Regions from separate parts of the Homo sapiens genome. Here region 1 is linked to region 2. The links are contacts of gene promoters, found by promoter capture Hi-C in blood cells and fetal thymus (Javierre and others, 2016). All regions are on one chromosome and are shown on one strand. The core of a region is centred on a gene start or on the middle of the fragment in contact, and the rest is flanking DNA. Distances in the headings are between cores, read along the strand shown. Region 1 has its middle 140 kb from the start of ERCC6L2. Region 2 holds the start of HSD17B3-AS1 (HSD17B3 antisense RNA 1).

Region 1 (2,951 bases), core at 417-2,916, 510 kb before region 2:
GGACCAATCAGTGTTATGTAAAATGGACCAATCAGCACTCTGCAAAATGGACCAATCAGCACTCTGTAAAATGGGCCAATCAGCAGGATGTGGGCAGGGCCAAATAAAGGAATGAAAGCTGGCCACCCCAGCCAGTAACAGGAACGTGCTGCAGTAGTGGGAACGTTTGTAGAAGGTTTGTTCTTTCAGTCCTCACAAAAAATCTTGCTGCTCACTTTTTGGGTCTGTGCCATCTTTAAGAGATGTAACACTCACTGCGAAGGTCTGCAGCTTCATTCTTGGAGTTGGTGAGACTACGAACTCTACAGCAGGAAGAAAGAAACTGCGGACTCAATAGGGTCTCTGTTGCAACTGCTGGAGTTCAAGTCCCAAAGCAGCCAGACACACAGAATCAGGAAGGTTATGGGTGTGGCTGTGCTTCAATAAAGCTTTATTTACAAAACTGAGATCACAGTTTACCAACCCATGATGTAATTTTCTAAAACACAAGTCCTATTTTTATTGGTGTCATAAATTATTTTTTTCTAAAAAAAAAAAAAAAAAGTAGTATTCTATGGGTTTCTTCTTGTAGGTGATGACCTGTAAAGGCACTATCTCCTGTTTCCTTTCGATTGACCTTAAAGCTTCATTTCCTAGCCGCTGTGAATCCTGCATTGGATAAGGCCAGTTACTGTTTACACACCTTTGTCTAGGACGTTTTTAAGGCACATGCTCTGCAAGGCACATTCGCCTGAGGTATTTTTTTTGCAAGTTCTCTTTGTTCTCTTTGCAAGTTAAAGTAATGAAGCCATATTTACAGCATCTTCAAATGTAATATCACCTAAGAATTTTAACGCATGAACTCTGAAAAATTGATTCTATGATTTTGGTGCCCTCATTGCCAGGCAGGCTGTGCTAAGAAGCAAAGGTCGCCGGCAGTGGCTCAGCCTGTAATCCCAGCCCTTTGGGAGGCTGAGGCGGGTGGAGCACGAGGTCAGGAGATTGAGACCAGCCTGGCCAACATGGTGAAACCCCGTCTCTACTAAAAACACAAAAATTAGCTGGGCGTGGTGGCACACCTGTAATCTCAGCTACTCGGGAAGCTGAGGCAGGAAAACCGCTTTAACTGGGGAGTCGGAGGTTGCAATGAGCCAAGATTGCACCTCTGCACTCCAGCGTGGGCTACAGAGTGAGACTCTATCTCAAAAAAAAAAAAAAAAAAAAAAAAAAAAAAAAAAAATTCAAGGAGAGAAAAGAAATCTTTGCCAAAAGATTTCTTGTGAGACTAAAAAGATGTTGTATAGATCCCAAATCCATGGCATGAGGAAGAACAAAAACTGATGACCTAGAACCTTGCCCGTGCGCCTGTCTCCTCCCCGGCTCACACTGGAGAAGACGTAGGATGTGCTCAGCTATTTGTCTCTCCTGCAAAATGGTGGTGCAGTCATCGCTTCTGAAACTATTCATTTAAGATAGGTTAATGACAACAGAAGTAGCTTAAACAAGATGAAAGTTTATTTCTCTCACATGAAGAGGAGACTAAAATGTAACACTCCAAGCCTGGTGTGGAAGCTCTTTGGTATCCCCAGGAACCCAGGCTCCTTTCTTTTCATTGCTACCTTCTAAGCCTATGACTTCCACCTCATGATCCAACATGGCTACCCAAGCTGCAGCCCTCCTCATTATCTCCATTCCAGTCAGCAGAAAAAATGACAAGGAAGGACACATGTTATTGACCAGCATTTCATTTCCTGGTCACATCTAGCCATAAGAGACGGTGAGGAATATGGATGTGGACTTTTTTTTTTTTTTTTTTTTTTGAGACAGAGTCTCGCTCTGTCACCAGGCTGGAGTGCAGTGACGTGATCTTGGCTTACTGCAACCTCTGCCTCCCAGATTCAAGCGATTCTTCGGCCTCAGCCTCCCGAGTAGCTGGGACTACAGGCACATGCCACCCCGCCCAGCTAATTTTTGCATTTTTAGTAGAGACAGGGTTTTACCATGTTGGCCAGGATGGTCTCGATCTCTTGACCTCGTCATCTGCCCCTCTCAGCCTCCCAAACTGCTGGGATTACAGGCTTGAGCCACCGCGCCCGGCCAGAATGTGGACTTTTTAGGTGGGTAACAATGTGCCCAGATAAAAGTTGGGATTCTTTCATTAAAGAAGAGGATAGTGGGTATTGGGAGACAGCCACAGAGGGAGACTGTTATTTATCTAATAATGACACAAAAATATAATGATGAGTCATGAGAAGTGCTATGAAAGAGATAAAGAACTACTGAAGTGGATAAAAAGCTATGTTTGCAGGGGCAAGGAGTGTTTAAGAAATGCTACCCTTAAAAAGGGGACTCTCAGCTGATACTTGATTCATGAGTGGGTTTTATCCAGGTATAGAAACAGGAGGAAGAGCATTCCTGGCAGAGGGCACAGCACATGGGAATCCCATGAGTCTAGGGGGAATGTGGTGGTGTAGTCCAGGGTTGTTGGGGGGCGCACTCAGGGGCAGCTCCAGATTATCAGGAACTTTAGGAGTCATGTTACAAGTTGTGAATTTGATTTAGTAAATCATCTGGTAAAGGACTGAGTGTGGGGAGTGGTGAGGGAAAAGAGTGTGCTCCAGGTAAAATGGTTAACACTGAGCACTGTCAGCCAAGAAATCCCATGCATGTTAGTTATTAGCCATGGGAGTCTCTCTAATCCATAGGAGACAAGGGCTTCCAGCTGCTAATGAAGCTTCTTGTTTAGGATCAGAGAGTCACAGAATGAGAAGATGGGTTTCTCAGAGCAGGTTTTTCTCTATTTGCTACGTAATGAAGTTCAACAGAAGTAGAGGTCTGTTGATAAGCCACTTCTACTGGCTAGGAGCAACCAGGAAAAAACTGGAAACAAGAGAATGAAAGGAATGAGAATTGTTCTAGTGAAAGGAGGAGACTTATTCCTCAAATCTGCACCTATTTTAGGTGGTATGTTA
Region 2 (2,970 bases), core at 186-2,685:
AGGCTAGATCTCCCAGTCTGGAAGGAAGCTACAGTGTCACTTGTCAGCAGGAAGATGGCAAGGGCTCCCAGAGGAGGTGAGTGGGGCAGGCATCCCCGGAGGCTGGCCAAGTTGTGCACCGCAGGGCTTCGTGTGCCCAGAGCAGGTGCTTTATTCTAATTTTCTCTTGGACTTCCCAGTGAGTAGCTCAGCCCTGCACATAAGAGAGCATCTCCAGGTAAACCTTTCCATCAACTTGCCAGATGATCAAAGGAAATTGCCAACTGGGAGAAATAAGAGGAAGAAGGAAGAGACTTGGAAGTCATGACATCACTCACCTTGGAAGCTGAGTACATGGAGTAGAGAGGCCAAGGAAACAGGGCTATCCCAGAAGAAATGTTCAGGATGAGACCTTTCTGCCTGAAAGGCAAAGAAGCAAAGTTCCCATGGCTTTGTTGCCCTACCTGACCTTGAGTACAAAGAAAACAAAGGGTCCCGTGTGAACACTGCCGGACTCGACCCTTTCTAGGCTTCCGCAAGTGCTAGGGGCTCTGCTTCTAGGAATGGTAAGTGAACTTCCCCTACCTTCCCCTGGAGGGCGCCACACAGAGATGTCTGGATTTCCGCCGCACAGTGATGCCACCTGGCAGTCATGTGACATCATATAATGTGAGGGGCTTGCTCTTGGAAACAGGCTGTGCTACAACTGAGGTCTCTCCACCAAAATACTGATAACCAGCTCAGCTCAGGATTTAAGGGGAGAGAATCCTTCTCCCTTAAATGTGACCACATGAGCTGCCGGTCCCTTTGGACTCAGGACCCACAGCTGGACAGATGTCACATGGTGGAATATTGTCTTGGATAGAATTTCACAGTACAGGACCTGCTCACACAGATACCCTATGCAAGTCTCCAGGAGCCTTACTTGTCCTTTTGAAATTTAATATTCTTAATCCTTCCCAATTAGACGGATACAATGGAGGGGCAGGGGACAAGAAACTGCAAATTAGAATCCAAGGCCAAGCCCCTTCTTCCTCTAGGGAAGATAAGCTATCAAGCATTTGCTTTTAATGAACACACCTGAGAAAAACCAACTCCCAAATGGGCATTGGAATAGGGTGACATAAATATGGAATAAGTGGAGGAGCTGACAGGGCAGTGATTTTCACAATAAATTGGAGTATTCTCTCTGACAAAAGCTGAAATTCCTAACAAAGAGATGGTCTTGATCTCGGGCCAACTTCTGAAGTTTTCTTTTACACTCAACATTAGTTAATTTTTCTTTAATCCAGTGTGTGCTGAAACTGCCGTTCTCTTCCTCCCTCCAATGTGTGTTACGTTTGACCTTCACATGAGCTTGTCTGTCTGCAGAGCTGGCCTGGCCCAGAACGTTATGTTTTTTTTCCCATAATCACCGTGTGCTTTCATCATAGCTGTTATCGTTTGTTAAAGCACAGCCAGATGGACTCTGTGTCCCCAGTCCCTGAGTTAGCTGACCGCCAGGGCAGGGAGGCCATGTTGCTCCACACTTTTTTGAAGAAGGCCTTACCTTGATTCCATATGTTTCAGAATTAGCTGTGTCATCTACAAGAGAAGGCCAAAGGTAAGCCCGACAAGGAACTAAGTAGCAGTGCAAGGGGGCGGGATGGAAACAGGGAAGGGAGCGCGGGAGGAAGCTGGGAAAGAGCCTCATCTTCTCAGACGGCCTTGAAAATTGCTGGCACTCATTGGAGGTCACTCTGGCCACATTAGAGTCTGCCTGGAACCCACAGGAGCCAACCTAGACAAATGACAGGCTGCTCTGGGGCCTCTGATTTCTTCCCCCTAAAGCTAATGTCTTCCTGGAAAATGAGGGCAGTGAAAAATTGGGGGAATTGGCTTACAGCTGTGGGACCAACACTGAGGTTCCCATGATACTCTTCATTCTGTGGGACAGGCAAAAGTGGACTGGCCATGAGTTGGAATTGGGGAACTATGGGGAAACCTAACAAGACTCTGTAGAGAGAAGGACACCTCTTTGATTCAACAGCAACCGCTTACGCAGCCTGCAGCTAGGCTATGAAATAGCTCCGTGGACACAGTGCATGGCCACTCCTGTGTATTGGAATTACAAGAGCCTTGAGAGGCCCCTTCCCCCTCCCAGCCTAGAGACCCCTGAAAAGGTCTTCTCTGCCATTTCAGGAGCCTAAAAGAACTTTTTGTTTCAAAATTACAAGGTACACATTTTACAAATGAAGGAAGAGGCAACCCCATGGACTGAAATGTTCTCTGAAGTAGAATTGACCGCAATCAGGCCTGGCAGGCCTGGAGCAGATCCTGACTGCAGCAGGTTTGAGACAAGGGACCCAAGTGAAAGGAGAGGGGTGGAGACATCAAGGCACCTGGGGACCGGAAGACACAGGCTGCCCATTTCTCCATGCTGTCCAGGGGCCCTGCAGCAGCTCCTCAGAGGTGCCCACTCCCAGGCCAGGCCCCAGCCTGTCTCAGAGCCTCCAGGGAATGTCTTCGCTGCTGGGGGGCCAGGGGGCCAGGGCAGTGGAGGGGGTGGGGCTCTCTAGAACCACTGGGCTGCCTCTGCAACACTGGATTTTGGGGAAGAAGAGGGAGGATGAGGGGCGAGATAGTGTCAGACCGCTTTCCGTGAATGACTTCATAGGGATATTATATGAGCCTTGTCAGCCAGCACCCACATTGCCTCGAAGCCTCCCGAATGAACTCACTAGCCCTGTTGGCTGAATGATCCCAATGAGAGAGACAACACTGAATCTCGTGGGTCCCCGCCTCAAGGCTTCCAATGTTCAGTTTCTTATTCCACCTTCCCTTTGCCCTCAAATGCATATTCTCCCATCCCTGCCCCGAAAGAGAACTCGACTATCTCCAGACGGCTTCTTTAAAATAGTGCAGCTTCACTAGTCATGCTTCTAACCAGCATGGTTCACTGGGGCGTGGTATACTTAGAAGCTAAACTTCAATTTATTTTATTTCATACTT

Evidence for each region. Contacts are between HindIII fragments. The CHiCAGO score rates a contact against its expected background, and 5 or more counts as called.
Region 1: a contact is called between a fragment that was not itself captured here and the fragment with the promoter of HSD17B3-AS1 in region 2, in 2 of 17 cell types (M0 macrophages and M2 macrophages). The highest score is 6.3, in M0 macrophages.

What each region holds. Positions count from the first base shown.
Region 1 is chr9:95,729,848-95,732,798 of GRCh38, forward strand. No RefSeq gene overlaps it. Among named protein-coding and RNA genes, the nearest start is that of ERCC6L2, 140 kb to the right of the region's middle. The HindIII fragment of the contact is 2,090 bases long and covers 622-2,711 here.
Region 2 is chr9:96,245,028-96,247,997 of GRCh38, forward strand. It overlaps HSD17B3-AS1 (HSD17B3 antisense RNA 1), which reads left to right and starts at 1,436. Exons shown (of 3, transcript NR_146524.1): 1 at 1,436-1,582; 2 at 2,196-2,308. HSD17B3 (hydroxysteroid 17-beta dehydrogenase 3) reads right to left here. Exons shown (of 11, transcript NM_000197.2): 7 at 1,529-1,563; 8 at 318-399. SLC35D2-HSD17B3 (SLC35D2-HSD17B3 readthrough) reads right to left here. Exons shown (of 26, transcript NR_182427.1): 22 at 1,529-1,563; 23 at 318-399. The HindIII fragment of the contact is 9,340 bases long and covers 1-2,970 here.